2 separate regions of the Homo sapiens genome follow, and region 2 is linked to region 1. The links are contacts of gene promoters, found by promoter capture Hi-C in human tissues and cell types (Jung and others, 2019). All regions are on one chromosome and are shown on one strand. Each heading gives the region's core, a stretch centred on a gene start or on the middle of the fragment in contact. The rest is flanking DNA. Distances are from core to core; before and after follow the strand shown. Region 1 holds the start of B3GAT1 (beta-1,3-glucuronyltransferase 1). Region 2 holds the start of LOC105369583 (a long non-coding RNA gene).

The links. The method cuts DNA at HindIII sites, captures the fragments that hold promoters and counts their contacts. A contact is called where the count stands out against the background at its distance.
Region 2: a contact is called between a fragment that was not itself captured here and the fragment with the promoter of B3GAT1 in region 1, in 4 of the 25 tissues and cell types used here (H1 embryonic stem cells, IMR-90 fibroblasts, dorsolateral prefrontal cortex and 1 more).

What each region holds. Positions count from the first base shown.
Region 1 is chr11:134,410,822-134,416,162 of GRCh38, forward strand. B3GAT1 (beta-1,3-glucuronyltransferase 1) reads right to left here and starts at 1,421. Exons shown (of 6, transcript NM_054025.3): 1 at 986-1,421. RefSeq lists an enhancer at 10-569. The HindIII fragment of the contact is 21,477 bases long and covers 1-5,341 here.
Region 2 is chr11:134,639,974-134,645,058 of GRCh38, forward strand. LOC105369583 (a long non-coding RNA gene) reads left to right here and starts at 208. Exons shown (of 3, transcript XR_948212.3): 1 at 208-335; 2 at 1,100-2,849; 3 at 3,577-5,085. The HindIII fragment of the contact is 4,286 bases long and covers 1,610-5,085 here.

The DNA.
Region 1 (5,341 bases), core at 171-2,670:
ACCCCAACATTTTCAACAGTGCGTGCTACACAGCCCAAGCTCTAGGCCCCATTGGGCACCCCACCTATGCAGGTGCCCATGCACTGGGCTAGCAACTGTCAGTAAAGGTCCCCTTCCTGTATGTCCAGAGTCCTTCAGCTCCAGCTTCTACAAGAATCCATGCAGCTAGGCCTGGCTGGGGGAGGAAGGGGACAGGGAAGTTGGCCAAGGCTCCCATGTGTGTGCATGTGGGGGTGGTTCTTGACCTTAGCTGCTTGGTACGGGGCTGTCACCTCCTTACCCTGGCACTGTCGGACCTGGTGGCTTCCTTCTCTATTTCCTGCCTCAACTCTCAGCCTCCTTTTTCTGGAAGTTGTGTGCTCTGACTTTGGAGGGATTGGGACCTCAGACCTGAGCCCAGGTGCAGATGGGAGGGTGGTGAACTGGTCGCGCCTCCTTCCTCCTTGCTACACCGAAGGTCCCAAGGGCCCTTTGCCACCCTTGCTACCCCTGGGTCCCTCAGCGCGCCCCGCAGAGCTCGGGCCCCCTCAAGAGAGTTAACTTGGCAGTGCCCAGGAGCCAGAGAGCGATCCAGAGAGCGCTGTTGGGCAGCAGGGGTGGGGAGGTGGGGGACGACTGACCCCTGACTCCTCATCCGGCCACCAGAAACCACCTGCTGAGGGGGCCGGGAACTGACGACTGAGAGCCCGGGCCGATTGTTAGAAGCTGCTGAGAACCAGCTCTTCCCCTAATCCCGGTCGACGAGGGCAGGCTGTGCCGGGTTTTGTTTCGCAGCCCCTCGGCAGCAGCGCCTCCCAGCCCGAGCTCGGTTCTCGGCCCCCTTTCCAGCTGCCCCCAGCGCGCGCAGCGCACACACACACACACACACACACACACACACACACCCCAGCGCGCGCCCGGGAGGACATGGCGTGGGCACCGATGGGGACGCAGAAAGGGGCTCTGTGCGCGGCGGGGCGCCCGCGGGGGCGCGGGGAGCACTGACCTGCGGCGACGAGTCCGGAGCGTCTCCGGTGCGGTCCATCGCGGGCAACGGCCCCTACGCCCCGGCCCCGGCGCCCCTAGACCGCTGCCCTGGGCCGCGTGCGGCTCCCTCCCCGGGGACTGTCGGGCTCCGGGCCCCCGGGGGCCACTTCATAGCCGCGGGGTCCGCGCGCCCGCCCGCCCCGCCCGGCCCCGCCGCCCCGGCCCGGCTCGTTCTGGGCTCAGCGAGGCGGCGGCCGAAGGCTGGGAGCGCGCGGGAGGGAGGGCGCGGGCAGGGAGGCGGGGGGCGGGGGGCGGGGAGGGGGAGCGGGGAGGGGGAGCGGGGAGCGGGCGCGGGGGCGAGAGGGGCGAGGGGGGCGCGCGGCCGGAGCCGAGCCGACCGGGCCGGCGCAGAGTCCCCGAGGTGGCGGCGGATGCGCCGGTGCCGCCGCGGCTCTGCCGGCGCCTCCCGCCCCGCCCCCACCCGCTCTCCGCCCCCGCCCCGCCCCCGCCCCGAGCCCGCGCCAGCGCCGGCGGGACCCGAGCTGCTAATGGTCGGTACCAACCTCGCCAGCCTAGGCGGGGGCGCGAGGAGGGAGGCCGGCGAGGGGACCCCCCCCCGGGATTGGTATCACCTCCCCACCGCCCCCCACCCTCCCCCGGCACCGTCCCCCGCGGAGGCGGCTCCCGCTTCAGGCGGCGGAGCAGGGGTGGCGGGCAGGGGCCGAGCGCACCCCCAGATCTCGGCTCTCGAGAGTTAAAGCTCGGCCCCCGCCTGCACCCCCATTCCACCCCGCCTCCATCCTGGCTGCTCCTGGCGCCCAGCTTGGCAGCCTCTCTCAAAGGGTGATTGTTTCCGGCCGGGCTGCTGCAGGAGGGCGGGGGGCGGCGCTCTGGGACCGAGAGGCCGAGCTGGGAAGCCGGTGGGGGATGCGGCTCCTTCCTTGGCTCCAGGCACCCCGGATGGGAGGTGGCCGGTGGGGGCGGACGGTGCCGTGCCGGGGTACGGGGTCTGCTGCCCCGTGGAAGGGCACCTCGAGCCGCCGCGCGTCAGCCTCACCCCAGCCTCCCCTTCCGGGCCGGTGCACCCGGCGTTCCGGAGAGAGGCCCGGGAGGCCTGCGTGGGCGGACGGGCGCGGGGAGGCCGGGGGCAGCGGGATCTCCAGGAGTTTCCCGGGCCTCTGCCGCGGTGTGTTGGTCGGCGGGGGACGGAGGCCAGTGAGTGGGCGCGCACTTGGACGTATGTGGGTGCACTGGTAGGGTGCCTCTGTGGAGCTGTATATTCCAGATACTCCTTCAGCTTGTCGGAGACTTTGAAGCCATCCTTGCACTCGTTTTAGAGGTTGGCATCTCCCGGTGCTCTTGGACACCTGTATTCGGGCCACACCCGCTGTGTCCTCTTCACAGCCCCAGGAGAAGGCCACCTCCCATGGCGGGGTTCGCGGCGGGACCAGGGACTGTCGGTACTTTCTCTAGGGTCTCCCTCCTTCCCGGGAAACCAGTTCCAGCCCCACTGCTAGGCACTGCTTAACCAGAGCTGTGCCCCCGTGCTATGGGCTGGGGCTGAGGACCACGGGCCTCTTTTCCATCAGCTTTCCTGCCCTGTTAGGACCAAGCCGGGCCCTGCTCTTCCCACTGAGGATGTGCAGGTGGGGAGGGGGCAGAGACTCCAGAATCAGCCCCTTTGGTCAAGATTTTGAGGGGAGGAAGGCACCTCACCGTCCGTATCATGCCACAGACATGTGAAAGTGTCCTTAGTGACTATCTCTAGGGATAACTGCTCCTCCTTGTCGTGCGCTCTTTCATTGTTGTGCTTAACAGCCCCCTTTGCCGGCAAGAAACTTCCTCTGAATCTAACCTCAGTACCTCCTGCTGCGGTACAGGAGCATTTCCCCCTTCTCTTAATGAGTGGAATCCCAGCCAGCCTTGCTCCGCCTTCTTCTGCCCCTACTACAACCCTCTCTTTTAGACTCTGCTAAGAGACCTTTCCTAAGTCGGTGTTCTCTGGTATTTTCCTAGTCTCCATACTCTGCTTCTCCTTAGACTCCACACCAGCTGAAGGGAGGGGAAGGGCAGGTGCAGAAGCAGGATGGGCGGGGGTACCAGAGAGCACCAAGGAGGGGCCAGGCCGTCCAGGAGGGCACATTGCCTCCCTCCTCTGCTAAGCCAGCCAGCCGCAGTCACACAATCACCAAATGGGAGGACAGAAATGACCGTGAAGACTGTCTCGTTCCAGACCCTCATTTTACCAACAGGGAAACACACCCATGAGGGGTGATCTCAAGAGAGCTCAGGGACATGGCGACGAGGAGGCCTGGGTTTCAGGCCGATTCTGAAGGCACTAGCAAAAGACTTCCCCTCAGGGCTGGTTTCAGTAATGAAACAGAGGGTTGGACTAAGTGGGCTGTGGTCCGACTTGTCCTGCTGGGCTGTGGCTCGGAGATGCTGTCTGCAGGGGTTCTCGGCTTTACCTCAGCATTCTGGCAGGAACAATTGTGATAATAAAGCCGCTTTCAAGGGACCTGTCTTGCATCTTAGTTCCAGGCTCTGTTTACAGAATTTTTAGTATTAATTTTTAGAGCCAATTTAAAACAATAATAGGAGATTAAAATTAGCATGATAAGGCTCAGTGAAGAGACAACAGCCTGCCATTCGTTTTGGTGGGAAGTTTTGGCAACATCCCAAGTGTATGGACACACACAAATGTACTGACATCTACGCAGGCACAAAACATGCTCATAGAGGCAGCTACACATGCAGATTCACCCACATGAACACACACACACACTCTGAAATACATCATGTGCACATGTAAACGCTTGCACACGGATGTACCTGAAGCACCTGCACCCACACAGACACACGTGTACACACACCATCCCCCGGGTCAGCCACACTCCCACCCCTGTCTTCCTGCTTGGCCTCTGCAGGACTGTGGAAATCCTTCCCTCCCATGTCTGGACTTGGTGCATCCTCACAGCTTGACCCTTGCTCCAAACATCTGGAGCACCTCTAAGGTCTCCCTGAATGATTGATCTTCCCCTCCCCCTGCCTTCCCTGCCAGTAGTGAGCCCCTCTTCTCAGAGGCCCCCAAAGCCTAGCACCAGCATGTTTAGTATGCAAAGCCCGGGTTTGTCCTCTGGGACAAACCGTTATGTGTTTATTGTGTAGTTAAGCAGGACGGGAGCCCTGCCCCCGCTCTGATCCTGGCCCACTTCCCATAATCTGAATCCCAGAAGAGTCCTGTAAAACCGTCATCTGCAATGCAAAACCTGCAAAACATCTGGGATGGTCTGTAGGTTTTCTCCAAATCACCTGTGCCCTAATTTAATATGAATAACAATTAGTTTACTCTTATCAGTTAATTGTTCCCCTCGTGGGTTCTGTCTGCCCTGGCCTCTCTTTCAGCAGGAGTTTTGGTCTGCTCCAGACTCCTAATGATACTGCCTTTTCAGCCGTGCCGTCCTTCTTAGCTACCACCCAAGAGAGGCAACGCAGCTGCGCTGCTTGCCGCCCTGGCCTGTGGGGCCCAGGCCCTCACCCCACCCGTCTTAGCCAGTCTGATTGTTGGGGGCCATCCAATCTCCCCTTGCCTTCACCAGGAATCTATAGCAGTGATTTTGCTGATGTGAGTGGAAAGGTCCCAGTGGGATTCTTCAGTGAGGAATCCCACCCCACAAGGTGCCCGTCCTCTCCCGTCATTGCCCTGGCAAGGGTGACAGCACATGCACATGCATGGGCACACCCAGATGCTGCCAGAGAGCAGGGGGAGTGAGAGGAGGAAGAGCTGCCCTCTGCCTCGGCAGGCAGGGTGAGCTCCCCAGGGACCCAGCCATGCTATCAGGCGTGTCTGAACTGTTCCCACAGTGGCTCCTGGACGGATGTGTGTGGATGTGCTGTTTTGGGTGGTGGAGTTCATGGCCCAGATACAGAAAGAGGAGGAGACCTTTTAACTCTTCCCTTTCATTAGGTTTCTGGTCTGAGCTTTGGATCTTGAACACCCTTGTTTGTCCATAAAAAATTGAAAATGGTCATGTGGTCAACAGGTTTCCCTCTGCCCTCCTCTCTTCTCAGAAGCCAGGCCGGCATCTTTCCTGAGCTGGTGCAAAAAGGCTGACTCCTGCTTCTCTCCAGTCTCTGCCTCCAGGGAAAGGGTGCAGTTACATGGCTTTAGAACACTTCAGTCATGTCATTTTGTTTTGCCTTCTTTCCTCTGTGGCTGAGGGAGGGATGAGAGGTGATAGGAGCAGAGCCCTCAGACTTAGGGGAGCATCTCTGAGGCTAACCTGGGACCGTTCTTTGTCCTCTTGCAGAAGTGAAAATAACCCAGATTGCCTTTTGACCTCCCCACTATCCCCTAACTACTCTGCAGAGCCCA
Region 2 (5,085 bases), core at 2,503-5,002, 230 kb after region 1:
AGAAGGCAGGGTAGAGGCGGGCCCTGGAGAAGGCAGGGTAGAGGCGGGCCCTGGAGAAGGCAGGGTAGAGGGGGGCCCTGGAGAAGGCAGGGTAGAGGCGGGCCCTGGAGAAGGGTGCGGCTCCCTAGGGAGAGCATTGGGTGGCGCAGGAGTCGAGGAGCAAAAACCAACCCACCCATGACTCACAGGGCCCTGGAAGCAGAACGAGGCGCCCCAACCCAGACACTTGGGCTGCATTGGAGAGGACAGAGTTGCCGTCCTGACCTGCTGTGAGCAGTGTGGCTGTGGCAAGAGACAGATCAGCTCTGGGGGGAAGCCTCAAGCGATGAAGCCAGGTAGCCCTCACCTTGTCACTACCTGTGTGACTTTCAGCAGGAGTCACACTCTGTAAGCCTTAGATTCCCAATCTGTAAAATGTTTCATAGGACTATTGGTGAAGGATGAATGATGTAGAATGTATTGAAAATTTAGTCAGGTGCCTGACACAGAGCGAGTGCTTGGTGAGTGTGAACCATTATTCCAGTTCAAGGGAAAGGCAGGTCAGAGGTCCTGGAGAGGAAGTGCCTACACTCCAGGTGTCTAAGGTGGCCCCTTCCCTCTCCTCTTCCCTGTGGGGACAGAGTGCTGAGGTGGGAGCAGGCTGGAATGAGATCCATGCAGCCTGGGACCTGCCTGTGCCACTGCCAGCCACCACAGGTCTCCCTATTGCCTTTCACTTGTGCGGTGGGCACTGAGCAGGGGCCTCTGACCCCCAGGGACAGGAGGCTCTGGGCAGCAGGGGCGCAGGCACTCCCAGGAGGAGAGGGTCACAGGGACAGGCAGGAAGGAGGGGAATTCCAGAAAGCTTCCCAGGGAGATGCTGACCCTGGGGTCTCTGTCTGGAAGGGGAGAAGGTAGCAGCGGGTACCAAGATGGGGATAGACTCGGGGGCCAGGCGTGGCACTGGCTGGACCATCATACATCAGGGCATGGCCCCCGTGCTCTGAGGCAATTCACGGAAGCCCCAGGCCTCTGTGCAGCCCCCAAGAGAAATGTTTCCCCAGTGTCCACAGGCCGCTGTTGGGACATAATTCATGAGGCTGATCTGTATTTCCAATAGGACACAGTGCAGAACGGCTGTTTGATGGGGATGGGGAGACTGGGAGCAGCTGTGCGGAAGTGCAGAGGAAAAAGGAGCTCAGCCTGCCCTCAGGAAGCTCCGGATTCATGGGAGGAAGGTGCTATCCATGTCACCAGTGCTGTGTAGGCTGCCGTGGAAGAGAAGATTCACTCGGGAGACCCCTGGACATCCTGGGAAGAAAGCAGGACACTCTGTGTAACCAGAAGCCTTGGACCCACTACCCACTGCCATGGATCCTCGAACAGGCCTTTTGCCCTCTCGAGAATTAGCTTCTCTGAGCCTTTTTTGGTCCTGCCAGGGCCCCAAGCATTGTTGGGAAATTGGGGAGTCCCTTGGCTCTGCGATGAGTCATTGGCGCTGGCAGAGAGAAGCCTTCCCATTTGCATTCACGCAAATGAAGTGGGGAAATCCTAGGTTTGGAAACTTAGACCGTGAGCGCTTCTCTTTTCCAAGTTTCCTATAACCCATAGAAGTCAGGGCTTAAATCAGAAGAGCTTCCTGACTTTGCCCTTATTATGATCCTGAATAGATACTGCCCTCTGCATGTTAGTTTCCTCATCTGTAAAACAGACTCACATGCTAATTGTGAGGCTCACCTGAAGTGAGAGGGGTGAAAGGTGTCTGTAAACTTGAAAGTCCTATGCAGATGGTGCTGCTAGGAGGGTGACAGCATGAGCCTGGTTACTGTCATCCCTCAGACCTATGGCTTCTCCTGGAGCCTCACCACCACTAGGTCATAGCTGGAGGCTGCCTGGGTTCATCTTGTGACATCACAGCGGACACACAAGCCCGGGCAGAAAAATGAAAATGCTCTATAGATGCTCCCGAAATGTGGTCCCTACGTGTTGCCATGACCAGAGAACTTTCTGGAAACAGCACCCAAGGCATTGGGTAGCTTTTCTTTCCCATAAATAGCATCTCCTGCTGTGTGGCCCAGAGTCTCCCGAGAATCTCTGCTGCCCAGATCCCCCTTCCAGCTCCTCCTGTCAGTTGGGGGGCAGGCTTGGCAATGCTGGAGAACAACTGGCACCTGCAGACATCAGCAACGGCTCGGTCTGAGGTGCACTCTGGCTTGGTGCAAATGAGCCCAGCCCCTGGGCTCCTAATATGGCTTCTCCAGCCTTCTTTCCAGGAGGCTGGCTCATTTCTCAGTCTCAATCCTGGAATGACAGAAGGTTCTCTCCTCTAAAAACCCACTTTTCTAGGCACTCTATGTTGAAATCTCAAACTCCTGGACACAATCCAAAGGTGAAGCTTCCTGATACACCTGCCCCTCCCATTTTGAACACAGCATTCCAGCCTCTTGGCAGCTTGGGATTGGTTCGTAGCTGCATTGCGGCACTTTCCTCCTCTGGCCAGGTGTCATTGCCATCTGGGCATGTGGTCATCTCCTGTACATGACTGTGACCCCTACAGGATAAGGAGCCTCTCCCTCTTCCTGCACCTTCCACAGTGAACCAAGCACTGTGTGGGATGAGAGACTCAGGCTTTGAGACTCACTCAATACTCGCAGTACTGCCACTCGTGGTTTGGTATTGAGCAGTAGTTTGTAAACCAGTTTCATACGTATATTTTTTTTATTTAAACTTTCCTGAAATGTTGTCTTCTGCATCAGGGAGATGGCAGGAATGAGAATGACTGTCAGAGCCTTTCCTTCCCAGGTCCCAGCACAGTGCAGCACGTCGGAGACCCTGCGGCACGTCGGAGACCCTGCAGAAGGGCCTATTCAGTGAGTTCTCAAGGTGCTGTTCTCATGATGGAGGTGGGAAGATGGAAGCTCAGGGAGTTTAAATGAGCATTCTAAGGTTTAGTAAATGCTAAAGACCAGACACAAAGCCAGGTCCTCTGATCCCAACAGCAACACTTTTTCCAGTGGAGGAGAATCCAGGAAGAGCTACAATCATTCTGATGCTGAAACTGCGCTTTTCAGCTCCCTCGGTCACTTGAAGACATGATCTTTCCCACCGTGGCTCCTGGCTTCTCCCTCCATTCCAGCTTGAACACTCTACATACTCGAGCACTAATCACACAGCCAACATTGGGACTTTCTGACGGGGGGTGCCATGGCAGCCTGTTGCTCTGAGAGCTGGTTCACACCTGGGCTGAGATGTGGATTCCTCCCCTTTGCAGGTGGAGACTGGGACTGCCATGGGCCTCCCCAGCTGGCCCCCTTCGGCAGCAAGTAGCAGCCCCATGGAGGGATGCCAGCATGCCCTGGTGCCTTGCAGTGCTCACACTCTCCACATATGCATGTCACGAATGAGAGAGGGCTGGGCAACACTCTCTGCCCCACACCCGTACCCAGACCACATGCATCCTCTCTCCTCCTCCCCGGAACAGCTCCCGCTTTGAGAAAGCTTTTCCTAAACAGGTCGTAAGGAGTTTTCCCGGTTGTCTCTCTGGCACCCAGGCTTTCTTAACAAAACCTCCCCATTCACTTATCTTCTGTCCCGCAGGGTCGCTGGTGGACGCTCCCCTGCACTCAAGTCACCAAATCCCACAGAGGGTTGGAGAAGAGGGGGCGGCTTTGCAGTGAGACAGACCTGCGTTCGAATTCCAGCTTTGGTTCAAATGACGAGCTGTGTGCCCTGGGGCAAGTCATTTGTTTAGTTTTTGTTCATCAACTTCCTCCTCTGTAAAATGAGAATGGACTTGAGTAAAAACATGCCTGTGAAGTATTTAGCAAAGAGCCGGCACAGGGTAATCACTCACTGCATAGTTACTACTGTCCTGGTCATTGTCATGACAATTACCAGTCACTCTCTGTTTCCTTCCTGACTTTAGACGGCACATCTAAAAGCCCCCACGACAACATCTGACACAACGTAACGAGATTGTAGCGCTGTCTAAGAAACAACCCTGCAAAGCAGCCACAAACTAGGCTCTCATCCCGACGATTTGAGCGCCCTGGTTACATGGAAGTTTAATTTCTTCCTGGCTAAATCTAGAACGTGGGAAATTCTGCAGAAATAAATGACCTAGTTTCTTGAACAGAATAAACTGCATGGGAAGAGGGGAATGCAGGTGTGACAGGTGTAAAGAAAGCAGCCGGTGTGTGTAGGCCCTGGATAAAACCTGATTGAAACACAGTGACTGTAAGAAGGTCCCTCTCCCCACTTTTTTGAAAACCTCAAGAAATTTGAGCATAAGCCAAGTATTAGTTTAATTGTTAGAAATCTTGTTAGATATAATTGTAGAAGTGCAGTTATGGGCTAAATATGTTTATTTATTAAAAATACATGAGGAAGTACTTTCAGGTAAAATTGTAATGCCTGGAATTTGCTAGAAAATCTCTGAGGAGAGATCTGAGGGTGGGGAGATGAAAGAAGCCAGGCATGAGCCGGGGGAGGTACAGAGGCTGAGGCTGAACACCCTTCACTCTTCTTTCTACTCTCATGTAATGTGGATGTTTCTATAATGAAGTAAGTATAAAAGTCAACAAAACCTCCCACTAACCTAACTGTGTCCGGGTTTCCGAGGTTCCCGGTTTCAGCTCAGCTGCCTGTGTTCTGGGGAGGGACTCCTCTCCAGCTGAGGGATCCGCGGGGACTGGCTCCCTCACACACACACAGCAGCACCTGCTGCCCGGGCACTCAGGCCTCTGCCTTACACCCTCTCTACCACGCTAGACACGCAGGACCCTGGGCCAGTGACCTAACCCCTCTGCACCTCGGAGCCTCCGTGTCAAACTGGGCTTGGGGATATCAAGCCTCTAGGCTTGTGTCTGCTGCATAAGAAGCCCTCCAAAAGCATTGCTCCACCCCTCTCTCGGGCTCTGTTCTCTCCTGGTCTATCTAAACCTCAGATGGCTACAGAAGCCCAGCACTCTGTGAGCCTGTCAGGGGAGCTGATGGCCCCAGTGATGCAGGCCTGGCAGTCTGGGGTGAGGAAGACAGCTCCAAGCCCAGTCACCTCTCCCTTCCTGTGCCTATCTGTGAACTAGAGCTTCAAGCAGCTCCAAATAA